Linked DNA regions of Homo sapiens: all the other regions are linked to region 1. Evidence: promoter capture Hi-C in 16 types of primary human blood cells and fetal thymus (Javierre and others, 2016). All regions are on one chromosome and are shown on one strand. The core of a region is centred on a gene start or on the middle of the fragment in contact, and the rest is flanking DNA. Distances in the headings are between cores, read along the strand shown. Region 1 holds the start of MAP9-AS1 (MAP9 antisense RNA 1). Region 2 overlaps PLRG1 (pleiotropic regulator 1). Region 3 has its middle 2.5 kb from the start of PLRG1. Region 4 overlaps FGB (fibrinogen beta chain). Region 5 holds the start of FGA (fibrinogen alpha chain). Region 6 overlaps FGG (fibrinogen gamma chain). Region 7 overlaps LOC124900169 (a long non-coding RNA gene).

Region 1 (3,400 bases), core at 483-2,982:
TTCCAGGTAGAAATGATCAGTAGGTCTGGAGCAAATAGAATTAGAATTAGGGACAGAAAAGACACAAAAGGTACATGAAAAAGACGAAAGTGCATTGACAAATAATACCTACCAGCCATTTTTCATATTCATTAATAGCTTGTTTATCTTTATCTTTTTTCTCAGCTCTTTTCAGTTCTTCCTTTCTTTTCTCATTTATTTTTTCTTTTTCCTTTTGCTTGAAAAAAGCTTCCTTTTTTTCATTCCTATAGAGCATAGTATAAAACACTGGAGAGTTAAAGGAAAATACATAATAAAGATTCCCTAGTACATCTTTGACAGTAATGAAATTGAAATGCATTACTAAATTTCAAGTAAATAAATTTTATAAAATCCTGAAGTGTTACTATAATTTAAAATATATCAAAATATTTATGATTTTGGATTACCATTTCTCAACAGCAGTTAAATTATCTTTCTTTTTCTCGGCAACAGTTTCCTCCTCTTTCTGTTTCTTTGCTCTTTCATATTCTCTCTCCTTTCTATTTTTCTCTTTAAGATATTCCATCTTTTTCTCTTTCCATTTTTCAAAAGCCTGAAAAAGTTCAGAATAATTTTCTTACTGTGAATATTTGAAAATAAATAAAAATATGGTTAATCATTAATTTGGATTTCAAATGTTTTAAAATAATTAAGATGTGCAAAGTTCTGAATACTTGTAGTGCTTCTCCTTTTCTTGCAGCATTTTCTTCTTCAGTTTTCTTCTTGTTTTTTTCTTCAAGCCTCTTTTTGGCAGCTATTTTCTTTGCTTCCTTTTCTTTCATAGCCTTCCAGGCCTCAAATGATGCTAATGCTTCTTCTCTTTTAGCAGCTTTTTTCTACAGTGGAAAAAATAATAGAGTGATATACATATATATGTATATATACATAGACACAAATATGGCTAGATATAAATATACACATATACATTTATCTTTAGTCCTCTGATATTCATTATACTTAGAAATTAACTTTCAAAGTAGGTAATTTATTTAGAATGGCTTAGATAATTTACAAAGAATGTTATCTGAATTATTCATTGGTTTTAAAACGTCCTTTTCTAAAAACATTTATCACATATTGACCTATTAATGAGAAAGATGTCAACTATTATTTTTGAAAGTGTACTAAACAAATTATATCAAAATAAACTGTAATAGGCTAAGTGGTATAGTAAAATTTTCATAATAAAATATTTGAAAAAAAAATCAGTAAAGTTATGGGCTTATAAAGTAAGTTAGAGTAAGGCAAATTGGCCAAGCCATGCAGTAAGATGCAGATTTTTGGTTTAAATCTTAATTTTGAATAGTATCAAAACATAAAGTTCTTACTGCACAAATGTATTCCAAATGTTGAAAGTATGTGCTCGACTGAAAAATAGGTTGGAGACTGTATAGCAAGTTATGTTATTATTTTACTTCCTTCAATCTAATCCCATAATATTCTATGTTTGCTTTATTGTTCAATATTAAATGACATAAAACCTTAATATTGGGGTAACATAATTTAGAGGTCAAAGTACTATCTACCTCACAGAGCTACGAAAATCAAATGAGAAGGGGTATGGCACTGACCACAGCAGCATACTGCTATGAACGTGGTTAACAGATAGACAGGCACGCCCCCTGGAGGGCTGCTCCCTTCACTACTGACGCATTATCGTGCAGTTCACCTTGGAAAATATTTTTCTTCTAAATCTATTTTTAGTATTGAACAGCACACTGGAGTTTTTGTCCAGAAGTTTGACTTTAGAAGATAAGAAATAACTGAGCGTATTACAAGCAGGAGTTAGAGGAAGAGACTCAGTACAGAAGAGACAGGAACAAAAGTTCACCTCCATTCAATGGGAAAGGATACAGATCAAGAGTTCAGGTAGGGGTTGGACTTGAAGATACTTATAAAATTCAAGAGAGAAAAGAGGAAAATTGAAGGCTAACTAGTGTCTAATGATCCTTTATCTTGTCGTGCCTTTTTTTTTTTTTTTGAGACAGAGTCTCTGTCACCTAGGCTGGAGTACAGTGGCACGATCTCAGCTAACTGCAACCTCCGCCTCCCGGGTTCAAGTGATCCTGCCACCTCAGCCTCCTGAGTAGCTGGGATTACAGGTGCCCACCACCATCCCTGGCTAATTTTTGTATTTTTAGTAGAGATGGGGTTTCACCACATTGCCCAGGCTGGTGTCGAACTCCAGACCTCAAGGAATCCCATCTGCCTTGGCCTCCCAAAGTGCTGGGATTACAGGCATGAGCCACAGTACCTGGCCTTCTTGGTTAAGTTCTAAATGAAATCAACTTTTAAAAGTGAATTAGGTGCTCATAAACAATAATAACTTCATAATCAGCAGGAACAAAGCTATCCTATACATATACAAAATTAAAATCTGTTTTCATGTAAAACAGTTATATCAAACTAAAATGTATAAAGTAAAACAGAAGTAAAACCGGAAATCATTTCTTTAATATACAAGTTATTTTGCCATTTAAAAAGCTGATTTAGAAAAGTTATATATTCAGGGATATTTTACTGAAATAAAAATCCAAAACATTTTTACTTCTATATGTCAGAATACCTGTTCATTTTGGATCCTTAAGTTTTCACTTTCAATTCTTTTTATTCTGTGCATTTCATGTAAATACACATTTTTCTTTTCTAACCACTCCTATAAGAACAAGAAAAAGGTCATATAATATTTAAAATTTCTTAAGTGAATTAGAATTCTTTATATTAACATTTTCTCTGAAATTCACATGTACAATTTTCTAAAGTATACTATTCTACTCTAAAAAAGACAAAAAAAGACTTTTAGAATTGTGAATAAATTAATACAATCTTTTTCCTATGTACGCCTAACAACATCTCAGGAAAGAAAAAATTTAATAACTTTTTGTTCATAATAACTCCTTTTGTTCATATAAACTTCAAGAAGAAAAAAATGAAAACATATATAGACTTTACAATGTTTTGGCTTGTGCTGTATTTCTATAAATTGCAATGGCATATTCTTTCTTTAAAAACAACTATGGTCAGTTATGCAAAGTGTGGAAGCAAATAATTTAGTAAAATATGATTACTCATGTATTAAAAGGAAACTCTTTCTCAATAAATTTAAGTATTAAACCATCATTTTCTATCAGGATTACTTTATTCTTTATAAACAGTGTAGGCTTATGAAAGTGATCATTCTTCTTCTCTTAAAAATATTTTCCTTTTTTACCTGATAAACAGCTGCCCTTATGTTATCTGCTCTATCAGGTTCTATGCTCTGTTTCTGTGAAGGTTTTTGGTCCAAGACTTTTAAAGTCCCTAAATAGTGAGAAGAGGTAGTTGTCGATGGAGTTCTCCTTTTAGAACTAGATTTCTTCAAAAACTCAGAGGTCATTAA
Region 2 (3,400 bases), core at 665-3,164, 820 kb before region 1:
GTGGTGGTAGAGGTGGCTGTCTTTGACAACTTCATTTTTTTATGGCAATTAATTTGTTTATGTTTTCTGTATCCTTTTGAAATAGCCATAGGCTATTTTTTTCTTTAATCATTTTGTTTGGCAAATGGCATGGAATTGGACAGAGCTCTTTTAGTTATTACTTCCCTCCTCCCTTTGTTTCTATTATTTATATTTCTGTTTAATTGGCTTATCTAGTTTTATCTATTTTTGTACCAAAAAAATCAGTATTTATTATTTTTCCTTATTAACTTACCAATTCCTTTTTTCAAAAGAAAAATGTTTAACACATTTTCATTATTTTTTTTTTTTGCAATTGGTTGAAAAAATGTAAAGTGAGGAAATAGAAATAAGTTTATCAAAAACTCTAAGAGTTTGGCTGTAAGAGTAGAGAAATGGGTGTATTCCTAGAGGGAAACAATAGGTTTAGTGTTTTTTTTTTCTAAGAAGCAGTATTGCAACCTATTTGTTGATGACACTCATTTAGGGCAGAGGGAAGAAATTCATGGTACAGGAGAGAAAGAGTTTAATCATGGGAGCAAGGTCCTTGAGTGGGCAAGAGTGTATGGCAACAACTGCACAGAGGGAATTGTTGTGAGGCAGATTGCTCATCCTCTGTAACAGCAGGCAGAAGGCATTAACTATGGAAATGTGTATTTGGTCATTATTGATGGCCCACTTGAGATATGTGGTTATAGACCAAGAATGAGTCCAGTCAGTGGAGCTGTTTTTCTTTGGTAACATTTTATAGCTTGACTACACTCAAGCTGTACGGAATGGGCAGTGGAAAAGATTTGAGCTTAACCCTGGTTGGATGTCTGTCAGGTAAGTAAAAGGGCACATGCATGAAATTCTGCATCTTTCATAGGGTTCACAAACACATTATGGTATATGAATTAATGCAACAGAGGATTCAAGAACACTGTAATACAGGGCAGCATGGAGCAGGGAAAGAGATTTTTTTTTAATGCTTTTCAGAATTTGATACGTATACCTAACTTGAACACAATAGTTGAAGCTTTGCCAGACAGGTCGGTAGGGGCTTTCTCATCTCCTTGTACTAGTAATTTCTTCTTGGCCTTTAGAGATGGAACAGCATCCACCTCTGATTTTTCTTGTTAGAAGGCATATCAGAATCTCTCAGGAATGCAAGTGTAGTGTTCTTTTTTCTTTATTTAAGTTTACGAAATACATGCTTATAGAAAATTAAAACATTATAGAAATATGTAAAGCCACCCATGAAAGTTCTTCCATAATTCTGCTTCCTAACAAAGCCACTGTTAGTAATGTGGTGTTACTTATATTTTAGAGCATCAAGTTGTCCACAAAAATGCTTGCACAACTTTTTTTTTTACCCAAGTTTAGAAATCTTGCCCTAATAATCCAGACATTCCTCACTCTCTTAACGAATACTTAGAAACAAATTGCATAAAGGTACCATCTATTAAACCAGTCCCTTACTGACAGGGCATTTGGGCTAGTTTTAAGTATTAAAGAACAAAGGTGCAATGACTTTGCTTGTGTACACTTGTCAGATCATTCCCATTAGGCAGTTTCCTAGGAATGAACTTAGTAGGCCAAAAGGTTCAAAGTTTCAATAAATCCCAGAAAACTACATTCCTAAAGGCTGTGACAATTATACTCCCACCTATGGCATACAAGATGGGTAATGTAATTGGAAGTGCTTGTTCAAAATCATGGTGCAATTTTTTAATTTGGAAAATTTAAAAAATTGACTGTTCTTATAACTGTGTTTTCTAATTATAGAAGGTGAAGTCTGACAAATCTTGATTAATGGGGAATCAGGATCCCAGGGCAGGATTTATAAAACTTGTATTTACCAAAAAGAGGCATCAGTATTAGAAACTTTAAAACTTCTCTTTAAAATCTCCGCAAGATTGCAGCCCTTGCTACAGCTTTAAATAGCTGCACTGGTATCTCCAGTTATTTTCCCCAAGTTTCAATACCAGTATTGGTATCCTACTAGTTGAGGAATAAAATCCATACTTATATGAGCTTTCCCCAGAACAAGCCAGCTTTAGTCCCATTATTCGACAGTAGCAGAACATTCTTTGTCCCAGAACACACCGCACACTTTCTTGTGCCTGGTTTCATCACTTTATGCCTCATCTCTTTTCCTTCTTTGTCTTCCTTCACTTCAAGGTAATCTCCAATGCCACTTACTCTATGAAGTCTTCCACAATCCTTCCTGAGAAAAATAAATGGTCTTATCCCTTCTGTTCCCCCAGCATTTCACCTGCACCTCTGTTACAGAATTTCTATACTAAGCTACCAAACTGGAAGTCTTAGAGGATAGACACATCTTACTTGTCTATTTCCTGAACAGTATCTAGTGCAGAACTTTGTAGAACATACACTCAAAAACTGTTTTTGGAATAAACATACATAAATTAAGACTTCAAATCTTTTAATCTCAAATTATTAGTCACAGATGTTATTTTTTAAAGGACTAAAAAAAAACTACTGCTCCTTCAAATGTCCTAATTATCGGTTTCATACATTTTTTTTAAAAAAGGGGGTTTTCTAATAAGACTGTCAAAATATTACATCTAGAATAGTTATGTTCAATAAACCTGCATTTACTTGATATCTGCATCTTCCTAGTATCACAAATTGTTTTAGAAATAAAAACACAGGGGTAGGGGACAGGGGACAGTTTATTGTAAAATATGAAGCAGCAATGATTGAAGCAAGTGAATTTCTCCTTTATATTCCCAGCCAGAGCACAAAATGACTGGATATCCTCATGAACGCCAAGCTTTTTTTTTTTTAATTAAAAAGAAAAAAAAAGAGAGAGAAAAAATTCCACATTCATTAAAATCTCTTTCTCTTGATAATTTCTGGTTTCCAGCTGACTGGATGAGTTTCTTCTGTCTAAAAATAGAAAAGTGAGTTAAAATAAAGTATTATTAGTTTGCTTCATGTCTAATAGGCTTCCTTTCTAACAAAAATAAGGTATCTAACATTATTCATTGGCTTTATACACTTAGTTCTTTGACAGTTTTAGGAAGAGTTGATAAACTTCTGGCATTATCCAAGTCTAATAACAGATGGATGGATTCATTATGTTTAGTTTGTAGTTTTCCATCTAAAATAACATTTCTACTTGGATATTCTACTAACACCAAAGCTTATGATTCTCGAATTAATTTACATAGCAATCTATTTATTTGCTGTTATTCTTGGTGCAACATTTCCCAGCAACTATAACAAAGGAAGTTGGGATAAAATTAAAGCCATCCATGGATTCACTGGCATCAGTGAAACAATATAGAAATATATAAATGGACACTATTCAAGAAGACAGATATCTTAAATACTATAAAGATTATTTTTCCTTCTGATAATTAAATGAGAATAT
Region 3 (3,400 bases), core at 347-2,846, 800 kb before region 1:
GGACTTAGGCATTTACAAACTTAAATAGACAAACATTTTACTGGCCCTGTTTCAGTTTCACTAATCCTGTCCTGAGAGCATACTGCTTACACTTTGAGAGGGGGAAAAAATCTAGCAAAAGAATAGCAATATAAATCAACCTTACTTGGAAATTCATTAAAAACATTAAGGTCATGGGTTTTTGTTTGAGACAGAGTTTCGCTCTTGTCGCCCAGGCTGGAGTGCCATGGCGCGATCTTGGCTCACTGCAACCTCAGCATCCCAGGTTCAAGCTATTCTCCTGCCTCAGCCTCTGGAGTAGCTGGGATTACAGGCGCCCGCCACCATGCCCGGCTAATTTTTGTATTTTTAGTAGAGACAGCGTTTCACCATGTTGGCCAGGCTGGTCTTGAACTCCTGACCTCAGGTGATCCGCCCGCCTCGGCCTCCCAAAGTGCTAGGATTACAGGCATGAGCCACTGAGCCCTGCCTTAAGGTCATGTTTTTACTTGAAGATACAGCATCTCTGAATTTAACTGTGAGTTTGGCCTAAGAATTGCTTTTCTGTAAAGGTGGCAGGTGATGGTATTTCCTTGCAAGAAAATACCATAATTGTAAAATATATACTTGATGAACTAAATAATATACTCACCTATTAATAATAACTATAGAAAATAACATGATTTGAAATGACAATAAAACCATAGAAACCTAAGCAAGACTAATATATATGGCAATATATTAATTGTCTAGTTGGATCTATTAACTTTTTACATATTTAATCATCCTGGAGACATTAATTTAATTTCTCAATAACAACATGGTAATGATTGAGGTAAATTGCCTCGAATTTGCTCCTTTTAAAACACTGTCGTGAATTTATAGAATGATGTCATCCCCTTGAAAGTTTACAATATTTTAGATAAATATAGAACTCAAGTGACCCTATTATTTAGTTCAGGGATTCATGAATTATGTATATTGTAGGAAAATTTTGTATTTATATGGGAATATGTTTTATTTTCTGGAGAAAGGATCCACAAGTTTAATTGGATTCCTGAAAGGCTCCGTCATACACACATGGCCTGGCTGACACCCGAAGCTGCCTTATTTGAACAGCAGGTGTCACCACTGCTCTTTGTACGGGCCCTCAGGGCTGTCCTTAAAGCAGACACGGCAAGTAACTTATTAATATAAATTATTAGTATTATGTCTGTGTAAAACCAAGAATACAAGTTTTAAGGAAAGCCCTCCTTCTTTAGGCAAGATTTTTTAAACTCACCAATACAGAAACTCTTTTTATTCTCCTTCAAATATTGTCCTTTGCTCTTGAACAGTGATAGGTCATATGAGTATAGATTTGAGTGCCATTTTCATCAGCTTTTTATGATATTTTTATAGGAAGTGTTTTCTGATTCTTATAAAATAATAAATATTACTATTTATTTTTCTGTTTCAACTTAGAGGGTTAAATATACAAGCTTTAAAAAACACTATATGCAATGTTCTTTAGAGTTGTGTGGCTCAGTATGTCCATCCCTTAAATTTCATATTTGAAATTGTTCGTTAATTCAAAAGGAAGTAATCATGGGAGTTATCACTGTTTATTTGAATTTCTGAGGTCAAAACCTGTGAAAAATGATACTTGGACATTTCTTCCAAAACTTTGGTCTTTAATTGTTTAGCACAATGCTATGAATTTGCCTAAATACTAAGGTAGTGTTAGCAGATACTTTCTTGTAGCATAGTTGAAACAAGCTTCTGGGACTATAAGGAACAGTGAAGGGGCTGTTCTTCCTGTTAATGCCTGGAAAGACTTTGGGAATAATTAGATTGTACTATCAGTTATAAACTGTCAGTTATAAATATCTTAGCAAGGTGTATGTGTGTGTGTGAGAGAGAGAGAGAGAGTCCTCGGGTCTTACTTATCACAATTTCACCATCCTCTACTACATGAAGCCCCATCTCATGTGTATTAGTTTGCTAGGGCTGATGTAACAAAGTACCACAAACTGGATGGCTTAGACAACAAATGTTTATTGTCTCACAGTTCTGGAGGCAAGAGGCTTGAAATAAAGGCGTTGGCAAAGTTGGTTCCTTCTAAGGGCTGTGAGAGAGAATGTGTTCTATGCCTCTCCCCTAACTTCCAGTAGTTCTCTGGCAGTCTTTGCCGTTTCTTGTCTTCTGCTGCATCACTGTCATGTCTGCCTTCATCTTCACATTTCGTTCTCACTGTGCATATGCCTATGCCAAATTTCTCCTTCTTAAAGAACATCAATCATATTGAATTAAAGGCCCACCCTACTCCAGTATGGCTTCATCTTAACTAATTCCATCCAAAAATACCCTATTTCCAAATAAGGTCACATTCTTAGATACTGGGGGTTAGGAATTCATAATGTGAATTTGGGGGGACACAGTTCAACCCACAACACTATATCACAAAATAAGTGACAATATTGAACATAATCATGACTTTTGTTGTTTACCTTTACAAATAAGAATTTGTACTTACAAATATTTGCAGGCATTTACAAATGTTTTTATTTTACAGAAATATTTTTGGTGTTTATACTGCCACAGAAGAAATAACAATGTCTTGGTTCCAGCTTTCTTAGCTGAATGTTTTGTTGTAATATTTGTTTAAATATCTGTATTTCCCAGTAGACTTATGGGGTGAATATGGCATGATGTTTACTATCACACAGTCAGAATCTAATTGACTTGCAACTGGTAAGTTTTCAATATTTATTGAATGAATGAATAAGTAAGCTATTATATTGTACACTTAAATATGGGTTTAGGTGGCTTTGAGAGCTTAATTTTTTTTGAGACGGAGTCTGGCTCTGCCGGCCAGGTTGAAGTGCAGTGGCACCATCTCAGCTCACTGCAATCTCTGCCTCCTGGATTCAAATGATTCTCCTGCCTCAGCCTCCGGAGTAGCTGGGAATACAGGTGTGCACCACCACGCCTGGCTAATTACTTGTATTTTTAGTAGACATGGGGTTTTACCATGTTGGCCAGGCTAGTCTCGCACTCCCGACCTTAGGTGATCCACCTGTCTCAGCCTCTCAAAGTGCTGGGATTACAGGTGTGAACCACTGAGCCCAGCCGAGACTTTAATTTTGATTTGGAGTTGCAGCTACTGAACATGTAGGAAGGATGGTCTGTGAGTGTGTGTGTGTGTGTGTGTGTGTGTGTGTGTGATGTGCTCACTCCGAAAAGTTGCTATTTCAGTAACCATTAATTTAATCACAGTCTTTCTGTGTGTGTAATGCAGATAATTGCTTATAAAAGGACTGTTCAGTTCTGTATTTCTGATCTTTGTAAATTTTATGACAATGAAAAATATTTTCCATTACATTTAAGTAAGTTAATTCTAAATTTTATTTAGTTTCTATAAAACTTAGCAACTTAGTTA
Region 4 (3,400 bases), core at 624-3,123, 780 kb before region 1:
TAATCCCAACACTTTGGGAGGCTGAGGCGGGCGGTCACAAGGTCAGGAGTTCAAGACCAGCCTGACCAATATGGTGAAACCCCATCTCTACTAAAAATACAAAAATTAGCCAGGCGTGGTGGCAGGTGCCTGTAGTCCCAGCTACCTGTGAGGTGGAGATTGCATTGAGCCAAGATCTCAACACTGCACTCCAGCCTGGGCAACAGCGTGAGACTCCACCTCAAAAAAAAAAAAAAAAGAATCTGACTATATACCATGGAAAAGCCACCACTCTGCCACTTAAATAAACATCAGGATCAGAGATTCCAAGAGGACAATCTGCATCAAGTCTTCACCAAGTGTTTTTTAAGCGAAATAATGAAATAGGGAGCAGAATATGCCTGTTGCCCATAGAAACGAGGTCTATTCTTGTCCTCAATTAGGCTTTTTTTTCTTCATAGTTACACCAGAACTAAAGTAAAAGTGGTTTTTCTGTTCTTTCTACTTCTCCCCATGAAATGGGCATATCATCTCAACACTTCACTCCAAGTCGCCACGGGCAACCTTATGACCCTAGGTCCTCCACCCCTAATGTATCATCATTGCCACCCATTTTTATGGTACTTATTGTTCTTAAGCTTATCCTCTTAATCTTTTCATGTAAGCAAAGCTCATTAATTTCTGTCTTGGAAATGCTACTACTCTCTTTAATTACTCACCAAATCCAACTTTAACTTTTGACCTGGTTTCTCTGCCACAAGTTCTGTCCCACTGGAGCCCATACTCACCTACCGCTTTGCCATCACATTTAACAGAAAACTCTTATCAACTTACTTCCTGCTTAACATTAGCTCCTTCCTATCTATATCCAAATTTCTTAAATTCAAATTTTTTAGCTGGAGTAAAAATGGTCCCAGTACCATTTCCTGTTCCCTTCACTATAACCTACATTTTTGTCACATTAAGTTTTTCCCCATTCCAGGACAGGTCAGGCCCTTTAAAAATTTCAACAGCTTTATTGAGATATAATTGATATAATTTAAAAAATCCTGCACATGTGTCATGCTGGAGCCCTATTGATTCCAACAGGGATGGCGCCTTGTCCAAGAAGAGACCCAGAGCCAGTGAATGGGACATAGGGTTTATTTAGGACTTAAATACAGATGTGGTCCAGTGGCAGTGGGCTGGACAGGACCGCTACTATTTGTAAAGAGTATGTAGTTTATATAACATTTCTACTTAGCACTCTCCACTTAGCAACCTCCATTTAACCCAAAATAAAAGGCCTTGGTTCCTTGCACATCCTGAGTTCCAACGGACAGGCAGGGAGTTCAAGTGTCCTTCACAGATAAGAAGTGAATCTCTCTGGGTTGGCCATTCCCGGATTCCTTAGCTTAGACTCTGAACACATATTCTTCTTAGACCATACAGTCATTCTCAGGGTATGCTTGAGTTAATGCTGTCGGATGCATCTGTCATACAAAGTGTTTAACATATACGATTTCATGATTTTGGAAATATGCATACACCCATGATATCACTGGCACAGTCAAGATATTAAATATATCCATCACCTCCAAAAGTTTCCTTGTGTTCATTTATTTTAGTTTTTCATGGTAAGAACATTTAATATGAAATATTATCAACAAATTTTTAAGTGCACAATACTGTATTATTAATTTTAGGCATTATGTTGTACAGTAGATCTCTAGAACATATTCATCTACTAAAAATGAAATTTTATCTCCATTTCCCCCTACCTCCCATCCCCTGGCAACTACCATTCTATTTTCCACTTTGACTGTTTCAGATACCTCATATAAGTGAAATCACACAGTATCCTTTCGCACTGTTGTGGGGATGTAAAACGGTGCAGCTACCATGGGAAGAAATGTGGAGGCCCCTAAAAAATTTTTTAAAAAATTCTGATTATCATATGATCCAGCAATCTCACTTTTAGGCATATATCCAAAAGAACTGATATCAGGATCTGGAAGCAATATTTGTGCATCTGTGGTCATTGCAACATTATTCACAATGTTCAGGTCCTTTTATATGATGCCCTCATTGCAGCAATGTCTTCCTCCCAACACCATCTGACAAACTGCTATTTGTTTTTAAACCTCACTTTAACTGTCACCGCCCAGAGAAGACTTTCTAAAACCTTTGGGCAAATTTTATTACTTTTTGACAATGAATGCCTGAGGCTTATCCAGCTTTGATTCCAGAAACATCAGCCTGTCAGAATGGCTAATTTTCATGCATTTGTGAATGCTGGATGGCTAAATCCAGTGATTTTCAAAGTCTCGAACATCCTCTTTTTAAATGTAGAACCCATTTTCCAATAAAGCCACAAACAGAAACTCAACATGCAAAGTTCTTGAATATGGAACTTTTGGGGCAATACTGAGAGTCGCAAAAGTTCACTGAATGAAAAATGCGGGTTGGGAAGACTGCAGTCATCAGACCTTTGCTCACTCCTTACGTGTTCACAGAGGATCAAATGAATCCCTAGAGCTTGAAGTAATGCCATAGAAGAAAAACCACTAAAGTAGATAATCTGATGGTCAATTCTTAGTTAATGTACAAATAGAAAAAACACAGAGACCACTCCCAGGTAATATGTAAGTCTATCTAGAAAGAAATGCACTTTCTTGGCTGGGCACAGTGGCTCCCATCTGCAAACCCAGCACTTTGCTGGGATGAGGTGGGAAGATTGCTTCAGACCAGGAGTTAGAGGCCAGCTTGGCAACATAGTGAGACCCTGGCTCTACTATAAAACTTGTAAAAACAAACGAAAATACAGTAACGAAAAAAGAAATGCACTTTCTTAAGGTGTCATTTGGTAAGAAATGTTATGTGTCTGATTTTGCCCATGCACAATTTTGAATATAATAAAAAAGGTAGCTTCCCCTATTTAGAATATATAAAACAGTAACAACAAGATTGTATAACTCATGATTTTAAGATGATAATAGAAAGATTAGTTGAAAGTTTTTAATCCCACACTGTGGTATGAGAACTATTTTATTTATATATATATATACATATATATATATACACATATATAATTATATATATGTATATATAATTATACAATTAGGACTGAAAGTCTGCAACAAACTATAATGGATGTATGCACTTGGGACATAAGCTTCTAGTTCCTCTTTATTTATGAACCAAGAGAAACAGCTAACTCAGGGATTGTTTTTAAACTGACTACAGATTCCCACCATGGGGCAAAAATATGGGTGACATGACACATCACCAGCTGCAGTAGCTCAGCTCACATTTCTGTTTAAGCATTACACACATAATATCCTGTATGCTGATCATTTAAACTTACTGACGCTTGTAATCCCAGCACTTTGGGAGGCCGAGGGGGGTGAATCATGAGGTCAGGAAATTGAGACCATCCTGG
Region 5 (2,500 bases), core at 1-2,500, 760 kb before region 1:
CTTTCCACAACCCTTGGGCCACGCACGCCTCCTCCTTCAGCTAGAAAGTCACCTTCACCACTATCTGCAGTCTTTAAAGATTCATTCACATACACAAAAGAGAGCAACAGCAATGTTAGCCAGAAGAGGAGACAGTGGCATGCCTACAAGTCCCCAGGAAGAGATGGCACTCTCACAGAGATTAAGGAGAGCAGACACAGGGCTTCGGCAAGCTTCAGGTTTCTTATCTTCAAATGGAAATCCTAGGACCCATTTTATGGAGTTGTTATGAGAATTAAAGGAGACAAGGTGTACAAATTTCTTAACTGTGTGTGACACTTAAATAAGCATTTGATAAATATTAGGAGTTTTAAAGAATCCATCCTAAAAGGAAAATTATTTGAATCTATAAAATCAGTTAAATTTTACCTTTTCATTTTTACTAATGACTGCAGACAGAAAGTTGAAAACTACTGTAGAGCTCTTTCTCCTGTAATTGCTGCTTCAGTAGAAAAACCTAGACTATCTTAACTGAATGTTCCTCTCTCCTTCAAGTTTCTATGTAACCTTTAGAGATGGATTCATAATTTAAAAGAATACCATTACTGCGGAAAAGCGTATTGCCTTACTAACTAATCTCTTCTGATACTGCAAAGATATTTCCAAAGATAATTCGTTTGCTTTTTCTTCTGTCTTGACAAACACAACAATAACCTTTCAGCAAAACTGTACTAACACTAAAAGTTCTGCTTATTATGGACAAGTAGCAAGAAATTAATAACTAAAGAAAACAAATCTTACCATAAAATGTTTTATTCCATTAACTAGCATTATAATGCACCAAGGCTTTATAGGTACAAGGATGGCAAATAATTCTTGCCCTTTTTAAAACAAAACAAAACAAAATGTGGTAAGACTGAATGACAGATGCTAAAGTTTCCCTTGTGAGTTTGTACACTCTCATCCATCTAAGATCTTCCTCTTGGTGTCATATTACCCTGTATTCTTGAGGTGTCAAGCCCACCCAGGAAATTTCCTCCCAGGCCTGGGGTCATAAAGCTAAGAGTGTGTCAGGACATAGAGCAGGTAGACTCTGACCTCCAGGCTCTTTGTGGAATAAACACCAGAGAGAAAGCAAGAAGAAAAAATGAAAAGGGCCATACCCATGCTGTGCCCACCACACTTAGGACCAGGCAGACGATCCTCATGGAAAACATCTTTTCTAAGGGTGGGGCTGGCTCCTGAGGAGCACTCCAGCTGAAAGAAAGGATTGCTGCCACTCCTAGTTCCCATCCTATTTAAATCTGCAAGAGGTTTGGTTAATCATTGGCTTTGTCCTGTGTAGACAGTCAACCCTCCCTCTACGTCCTTTGTTCCTCCTATGCTGTTGGTATCCCAGAAATTCTTGCTCAATTCCCCTCAGCTTGTTTGCTTCCGATAAGCTGTTGCAAAGGTAGCATTTGATTCTCCAGTCAACAATTAGGAGATCTCACATTCCAGGAACAGGGTGGCTTTGAGAATGAAAAGAGGAGCATAGGAGGGTATATCCATATTTCTAAACGTGAAAGAATATAGAAGGTGCTTAGGTAAGCTAGCTGTAGCCCCCAGTAGTAGTGATTTAGCAAACAATATTTCACTTTATGCAGAAATTAGGGTTGGGTGATCTGGCTTATAAAAAAAATAACTTTGGGGATAAGCTGGCCCTGAAGGCTTTCTATAAGTTTATTTAGAACATATTACTTTTCTCTATTTAAAATATTAAGATGACAGCAGCCCCAGGAACAAAACATCTTGGGTTCATAATCCAAGCTGCACCACTTCCCTGCTCTATGTTCTTGGACAAGTTACTTTACCTCTTTATACTTCAGTTTCCTCATTTATAAAATAAGGATGCTGATAAGCTACCCCATGCTTTTATGAAGAATAAATGAGTTAATTCTTGTAAATCTCTCAGAACAGTGACTGTCACATAGGAAATACTCAGTGAATTATGGGAGATCATAAAGTGCCATGAAAAATACCATTTATTTCCTGTTTCTGTGCTAGCAATCTCATTTCTGAGTGTATTTCCAAAGGAAATGAAATCAGGATCTTGAAGAGACACCTGCATTCCCATGTTCATTGTAGCTATATTGACAATAGCCGAGATATGAAAACAACCTGTTTCCACTGATGGATGAGTAGATAAAGAAAATGTGTATATATATATATACACAATGGAGTATTACTCAGCCTTGAAAAAGAAGGAAATTCTGTCATTTGCAGTAACATTGATGAACCTAGAGGGCATTATCCTAAGTGAAATGAGCAGATATAGACAGACAAATACTGCTTAGCTGGTCGTGGTGACAGGCACCTGTAATCCCAGCTACTCAGGAGGCTGAGGCAGGGAGAATCACTTGAACGCGGGAGGTGGAGGAGGTTGCAGTGAGCCGAGATTGCATCATTGCACTCCAGCCTGGGCCACAGAGTGAGACTCCTTCTCAAAAAAAAAAAAAAAAACGGAAAAGAAAGACAAATA
Region 6 (3,152 bases), core at 553-3,052, 740 kb before region 1:
ATCCTCTGGTGTGTGAAAGGGTGGTGATGGTGGTGGGGTGGTGGGGGGTGGTGTTGGGCTTCCTCATCTTGTGATGGGAAACCTCAGGTCTTGACCTACCTGACAAAAGAGTTTCCTTCTTTTTATTTGTCACTGTGGTACTATGATTATGTGCCACCATGAATCTACAAAGTCAGTGCCAGTACAATATAGAGTCAAGTCACAAACTCTGAAACTATACTGCCTAGGTTCAAATGCTGACTCTGTTGCTTATTAGTTATGTGGTCTTGGGCAAGTTATTTAACCTTGTGTGCCTCAGTTTCCTTTTCTGTAAATAGGAGTAACAGAAGTACCTTCCTCTTAGGGCTATTGCAAGGATTAAATGAGCTACGGTTCACAAGGTGCTTAGAAAAGTATCTGCCATATGGCAGAAACAATGTAGGAATTTATTAAATACACATGGTGGGGAAAAAATTACCTTCTGAAACACAGTCCATCCATTTCCAGACCCATCGATTTCACAGTAGACTAAGAATTGCTGGTTAGCTTTCAGAGGTTTAATAAAGTAAAGCCCGCTCTGTTTAGCTCCCTTATTGGCAATGTCTTGACAATCTAGAGAAGGAGAATCGACTTTTACTGTGGTTTGAAATGCAGGTAAGACTGTGCCAGCCTTGAAAAATAGCTTTTAACATGTAGTAAACTATTCATTTTCCAAGAATAATTTTCTTACTTTTCACATCAGCATTCCTTTTAAACTGTTTTTTTTAGCTATTCAAGAAAGGTCTAGACAACTGAAATTCTTAGACTTAATGGGTAGCCACTTTCTAAACTATTCCTATACTTTCCAGTACATACTTTCTCCTTTACATTACTTACTTTGATGAACCTAATCCCAATATAACCTTCATCAGTTACCTTTCCCAGTGATATCATGGATTTGCACCGTGTCTTTGCAAGGTTCCTGGCACTGTGCTTCAAGCTGGGCTACCTTCTCTTTCAGGTTAACAATCTTTTGATTATTTGAATTATATATTTCCTGCAAATATCTACAAACAGAAACATAAGATAACAAAAATAAGAAGACAAAAATAAGTATTCCTTTCAGAAGAGTAATTTTATATTTTCTTTGGAAACTGCTAAGTATTTTCTTAAGAAGTGCTTTCTGATAAATTATTCCATTCTTGAGGAAAATGTAAAATTATATTACTAAATTAACATGAATTAAAATTATAAACTTTTTGAAAAAGAAAAACAAATCAAAAAATCAATTAAAACAGGAATACAATGTGGACCTGAATCTTTTTACTTAGAATGGGGCATATTGTCTCAACTCCCAACACAAATAACAAAGTCCTTGTCAATAAGCAAATGTCATTGACATTTTGCTTTTTACTTTATGCATAAGGGACAGCAGATAGCAACCTGCAAGAGTGGCGGGACTGGTTAATAGGAACACCCCCTGATGCTTTAGAAGCAGGAAAAGCTCAGTTCAGTAATTCACATGTGCTGAAGGAGTATACCTTTCACTTGTGGATCTACTGAGGCTATACATATAAGCTTCAATCTAAAATATAACTTACACAGGGACATGATCTGGAACGTTATTGTATGTAAAATAAAACAACAGATACTTCCCCTTTCTTCTTTAATGCTTCTGGTTACATAGCTTTGGGAATGGACTGGGGGAAGTAAAAACCCTCCTTTTGTAGTTACTTACAGGGTGGCTTGCAAATATCCAAAAATGATAGAAAACTGTCTACAATGCATAAACCGTTCTTTCTTTGAAGTAAAAAAGGGTAGACAAACTATTTGTCCACGTTTTCCCTCTACCTTGTCTTAGGCAATTTCTGTACAATAACCTCCTTCAACTTCAATGATGGACAATAATAATGCAAGTAATAATAATAACAATAATAACAAGGGCCCTCTGATAGCAAAAAGAGGAGAAATCTTTCCTGGGCCACTTCTCCCTAGCTACTATTTATCTCAATTTCTCAAGCTGCTTTGAGAAAAATTCAGAAAAAAAAATTGGGGAAAAATATTAAAACTGTATCTGAGACCTTATGTTCAGAAAGTTTATGAGTCCCTGAGAAGCTTTAACAGAGACATTCACTTCCAAATGAAGGGAAGAGACTATGCAGGTTCATTCTGCAATGATCAATATGAGCTTTGCAATATTTGCCACACTTAGTCTCTCAAGACATGTTTCTTCCTGCTCCACATTCAATATAATTTACTTTAGGAGCCAAAATCCTTACTATGCCTCTGCTTGCTAATTTTTTTAACCACCAATTTGTCAGCATTTTTATAAAGAGGATTTTATTTTCAACACCCAAATTCCTATGAGATTGATTTTATGTTGTAAGATAAATGGGGGATGGGGAAAAAATTTTTGATAAATATGGTCAAACTAGCATTTGAAGACATCTAGAACATCTTTCTTCAATGTGATTATTAATAAGCAATTATAACCCAGTATAATTTATATTGCACTAAAAACTTCTATCTCTACTATGCTCAACATAATCAGGCATAATGTCACTGGGATATTATAAATGGGGAAAACACATTAAAAATTACTTTCACTCAAGTATAGAATATTAAATAAAAACTAAATCAGTCTTGCAGAGCAAATTAAAACAAAAATCCTTACCGAATACTTGAGTCATGTGTTAAAATCGATGCTTCATATTTCATAATTTCTTCTAACATTTTCCTGGACTTCAAAGTAGCAGCGTCTATCATATCTGTAATATAGGATCAGAGACATAAAAATCCTTAAGCAAATAGAACAACTAAAACAACAGCAAAAGAACTTCACAGATTATTATTATTATTTTTTGGTCAGTAGTCTTTATTTTCTCACTTGGTTTTGATGATTCATCAGGATTATAAGTGAGTTGGATTGCTTTTATCAGCTGTTTGACTTCTGATGTTTTGTTTTCAACTTGATGTAAGATGTCTTCCAAAGACTGTAGATCCTTGTCTACTTTGGTTTGATAAGTAGACAGGAAATCTGCAATGCCACAGGTAGTTGGACAATAACTACCCTGAAAATATAACAGTGATTAAAAATGTAGACAGATGCTACTCTTAAAATCTATTAAGAAAAATAGGTAAAACCTAGACTATGTTTTTAAAAAGTTACAAGTGCCAGATGATATTTATGAGGG
Region 7 (3,400 bases), core at 303-2,802, 720 kb before region 1:
TAATAGACTGGATAAAGAAAACGTGGTATGTATATACCATGGAATACTATGCAGCCATAAAAAAGAATGAGTTCATGTCCTTTGTGGGGACATGGATGAAGCTCGAAGGCATCATCCTCAGCAAACTAACACAGGAACAGAAAACCAAACACTGCATGTTCTCGCTCATAGGTGGGAGTTGAACAATGAGAACACATGGACACGGAGGGGAACAACACACACCAGGGCCTGTTGTGGGGTAGGGGAAAAGGAGAGGGAACTTAGAGGTCGTGTCAATAGGTGCAGCAAACCACCATGGCACAGGTATACCTATGTGACAAACCTGCATGTTCTGCACATGGATCCTGGAGCTTAAAGTAAAATTTTTTTTTAAAAAAGGGCTTTATTGGCCAGGTGCGGTGGCTCACGCCTGTAATCCCAGCACTTTGGGAGGCTGAGGCGGGCGGATCATGAGGTCAGGAGATCGAGACCATCCTGGCTACCACGATGAAACCCCGTCTCTACTAAAAATACAAAAAAAAAAAAAAAAAAATTAGCTGGGCATGGTGGCGGGGGCCTCTAGTCCCAGCTACTTGGGAGGCTGAGGCAGGAGAATGGCGGGAACCCGGGAGGCGGAGCTTGCAGTGAGCCAAGATCGCGCCACTGCACTCCAGCCTGGGTGACACAGCGAGACTCCGTCTCAAAAAAAAGGGCTTTGTTAGTTGCCTTGTGGTTCTGAGGAAAGAAGGCGGTTGCCATTATGTGAAAGAATTTTTAGAAATACAAAGCCACTTTTAATGCCCCAGCATTTTGGGGGATGATTTCCAGTTGGAGAAAGTTAGAACTGAACTGTTTGCTCTCTGGCACTCTGGATATCCTGTGACTCAGGACGAATCATTTTATGATGACTCCCGGGAGTTAGTGTGAAACTTGAGGCTATGAAACCAATCAAAGCAGCTTCCCAAACTAGAACCAAATCCAGGACTCTGGCCTCATTATCACAGTGGTTTGATTTATTGAGCTAATGAAGAAAGTCTTTTGTAATTGAGTACTGAATATCATATGGTGTTACTGAATATCTCCTTTTGAAGTACTGAAAATGTACTTCTGCTTAAGAAGGATCAATTCCTTAGAACGTGCTGTTGTTTTAGATCTACATGAGGAGCTTTGAATAATTAACAGTCTGGATGTTGTTGCTATGTACGACTTAGTTTTATTAATGACACATTTCAGAATGCACCATAGAGTTGGAAGGGCTGTCTTTAAAATACCGTTATCATCCAGGAGGGGGAGGTATATCTTCTTTTAAGAAGTCAATTGCCCAGAAAAAAGAATAAAACTAGTTATACTATCTTGCAAAAAAAGAAAGCAAAGCTTCATTTGAAAAAGTAAATTTTGTCAAATTTGCAAAACTTCTTATAAAATCACCAGAATTGTTGCTAAATTTTCTATTTGTATACTATCTTTCACTTTTTTTTTTCTATTTGTATACTATCTTCACTGAGATGTGAGGAAACCCTCACATGTCAGTTAATCCACATTTATACTGCTCTTGCTATGTATGTATGTGCCAAATATAGAGCTGGACATCACAGGGCACAAGCAGTGTTCAAGTCACCAGTGCCTCATAGATGAGAGGGTGGAAATAGGAACAGGTTAGGGGGAGGAAATTATATTCAATAAAGGTACCTGTTGAAACTATTATTGGGAAGTATTTCTGTAAACAGGGTGAGAATGGTGTCAACCTAAATTGAGCAACAGGGATTAATTCTCAAGCTTATTAGGGAATAGCAAGGAACTGCAATCAACATAATACATAATACATGCCTGCTATGGAGGACCATAAGGGTATCCGAGGGAGTTGGGAAAAAAAGGAAGCTTTTAAAGGCAAAAAGATATCCATGTACCTGTTTTGAAATAAAGACCACTGGCTACAGGTCTTTTTACATGCAGTGGCATTTGCTCATTGGTGGTACTGGCTGTTGGTAGGAGAGAGTTTTCATAGAAGTGGCTTAACTGGAAATTTCCAGTTGAGGAAGTCATTTCTGGCAGTTCCTGGTGCAGGCACACATGTGTGAGGGCCCTTCCTTCATGGCCTCCCACTGCATTTTGTTAGGGTTTGACATAAGTGACTCCGTTTTGGGTACTGACAATTTTCACAGGAGTTCTATTCAATAGAAGTAACAGTAAGAAGGTTGAGAATGGATATAAAGGAGAGTAGGATTGAGCTTTAGGGAACCCCTGGAGAGAGGAGAAATGGTAGCAGCTAAGGAGATAACAAATGGGAGAGGATACCAGGTGCGGTGGCTCGTGCCTGTAATCCCAACACTTTGCGGGTTGGAGGCAGGCTGATTGCTTGAGCCTAGGAGTTCAAGACTAGCCTGGGCAACATAGCAAGACACCTTCTCTACCAAAAATGCAAAACTTAGCTGGAACCATGGTGCATGCCTATAGTCCCAGCTGCTAGAGAGGCTGAGGCGGGAGGATCGCTTGAGTCCAGGAGTTTGAGGCTTCATTGAGCTAGGATTGCATCACTGCACTCCAGCCTGGGTAACAGAGCAAGACTTTGTCTCTTAAAAACACACACACACATGAGGGGAGGGAGGTGAACCCTGGAAGAAGTGGGAAGAATCTGGATGATCACAGGAACCCTGGAAGGAGGGAGTTTTAAGAAAGTAGTGGTGCTGGGGGAGGAGGCTAGGAGGATAGAGTGAGTTCACATGGACCTGAATAGGTTTAGGAGAATGCACACAGAGAAAAAGATTTTGTATTTGATTAGAAAGAGTACTAGTGGGTATAAATTCTAATTATAGACACTTAGTAACCATTCTTTGGCCAGTTGATAGAAGTGGTTTAGTAGAACATTTAAGTCCATATAGAGCTTGATGCAGCAGATGACAGCAGACAAGGAGCAGGAAAAGCAGGGTTTCCATCTTGCCTCTGTCACTAACAAGCTGCATGACCCTGGTTGAATCACTCGTCTCTCCTCTCCTTAATTGCTTCATCTATAAATGAAGTTTCTTAAATTGATGTCCAAGGATGAGCTTCAGAGATTCTGAGATGTCTGAAATTATAAGCTAAAAAAAAAGGGGGTTTTCCCTCTAGGGAGAAGGTCTATAGTTTTGATCAGATCCCCCAAAGTGATAATGCATCCTAAAAAGTTAAGGACTACTGGATTAGGTGATCATTAAAGTCCTGCTTAGTATACAATATCAGGAATTTTTAATCTCTGACTTTCGTTTCTCTATTGTATTCCATATGGCCTGTCTCCCAAATCACTCTCAGAGACCACTCTAAGGATTAGATTTTCTGAAATGTAATTGACTGTATCAGTCATCCCCAGGGGATTATTTAGAAAATCCAGGCAATTTTTAAAATTAAAGTTAATCATTTCTTTAGTAGTCCACAGACATTTTCATTA

The links. The method cuts DNA at HindIII sites, captures the fragments that hold promoters and counts their contacts. A CHiCAGO score of 5 or more calls a contact.
Region 2: a contact is called between a fragment that was not itself captured here and the fragment with the promoter of MAP9-AS1 in region 1, in 4 of 17 cell types (total CD8 T cells, naive CD4 T cells, total CD4 T cells and 1 more). The highest score is 7.1, in total CD8 T cells.
Region 3: a contact is called between a fragment that was not itself captured here and the fragment with the promoter of MAP9-AS1 in region 1, in 13 of 17 cell types (total CD8 T cells, total CD4 T cells, naive CD8 T cells and 10 more). The highest score is 32.3, in total CD8 T cells.
Region 4: a fragment that was not itself captured here is called in contact with the fragment with the promoter of MAP9-AS1 in region 1 in 6 of 17 cell types (total CD8 T cells, total CD4 T cells, total B cells and 3 more); the score reaches 11.4 in total CD8 T cells.
Region 5: the fragment with the promoter of FGA here is called in contact with the fragment with the promoter of MAP9-AS1 in region 1 in 8 of 17 cell types (naive CD8 T cells, activated CD4 T cells, total CD8 T cells and 5 more); the score reaches 9.9 in naive CD8 T cells.
Region 6: a contact is called between a fragment that was not itself captured here and the fragment with the promoter of MAP9-AS1 in region 1, in 3 of 17 cell types (total B cells, naive B cells and naive CD8 T cells). The highest score is 6.1, in total B cells.
Region 7: a contact is called between a fragment that was not itself captured here and the fragment with the promoter of MAP9-AS1 in region 1, in 2 of 17 cell types (naive CD4 T cells and total B cells). The highest score is 5.8, in naive CD4 T cells.

What each region holds. Positions count from the first base shown.
Region 1 is chr4:155,352,484-155,355,883 of GRCh38, forward strand. It overlaps MAP9-AS1 (MAP9 antisense RNA 1), which reads left to right and starts at 1,733. Exons shown (of 3, transcript NR_125937.1): 1 at 1,733-1,890. MAP9 (microtubule associated protein 9) reads right to left here. Exons shown (of 14, transcript NM_001039580.2): 9 at 3,233-3,400; 10 at 2,588-2,677; 11 at 696-857; 12 at 429-574; 13 at 113-245. The HindIII fragment of the contact is 4,107 bases long and covers 227-3,400 here.
Region 2 is chr4:154,533,832-154,537,231 of GRCh38, forward strand. PLRG1 (pleiotropic regulator 1) reads right to left here. Exons shown (of 15, transcript NM_002669.4): 15 at 1,174-2,913. The coding sequence ends at 2,854. Among named protein-coding and RNA genes, the nearest start is that of PLRG1, 15 kb to the right of the region's middle. The HindIII fragment of the contact is 1,761 bases long and covers 1,035-2,795 here.
Region 3 is chr4:154,551,193-154,554,592 of GRCh38, forward strand. No RefSeq gene overlaps it. Among named protein-coding and RNA genes, the nearest start is that of PLRG1, 2.5 kb to the left of the region's middle. RefSeq lists an enhancer at 925-1,219. The HindIII fragment of the contact is 277 bases long and covers 1,459-1,735 here.
Region 4 is chr4:154,571,247-154,574,646 of GRCh38, forward strand. It overlaps FGB (fibrinogen beta chain), which reads left to right. Exons shown (of 8, transcript NM_005141.5): 8 at 1-1,561. Among named protein-coding and RNA genes, the nearest start is that of FGB, 9.9 kb to the left of the region's middle. The HindIII fragment of the contact is 2,516 bases long and covers 616-3,131 here.
Region 5 is chr4:154,589,492-154,591,991 of GRCh38, forward strand. It overlaps FGA (fibrinogen alpha chain), which reads right to left and starts at 1,251. Exons shown (of 5, transcript NM_021871.4): 1 at 1,143-1,251; 2 at 1-71. The coding sequence starts at 1,196. The HindIII fragment of the contact is 3,315 bases long and covers 211-2,500 here.
Region 6 is chr4:154,609,173-154,612,324 of GRCh38, forward strand. It overlaps FGG (fibrinogen gamma chain), which reads right to left. Exons shown (of 9, transcript NM_021870.3): 3 at 2,846-3,029; 4 at 2,633-2,726; 5 at 895-1,025; 6 at 458-591. Among named protein-coding and RNA genes, the nearest start is that of FGG, 1.9 kb to the right of the region's middle. The HindIII fragment of the contact is 537 bases long and covers 1,535-2,071 here.
Region 7 is chr4:154,636,657-154,640,056 of GRCh38, forward strand. All of the region lies in intron 2 of LOC124900169 (a long non-coding RNA gene), which reads left to right. Among named protein-coding and RNA genes, the nearest start is that of FGG, 26 kb to the left of the region's middle. The HindIII fragment of the contact is 402 bases long and covers 1,352-1,753 here.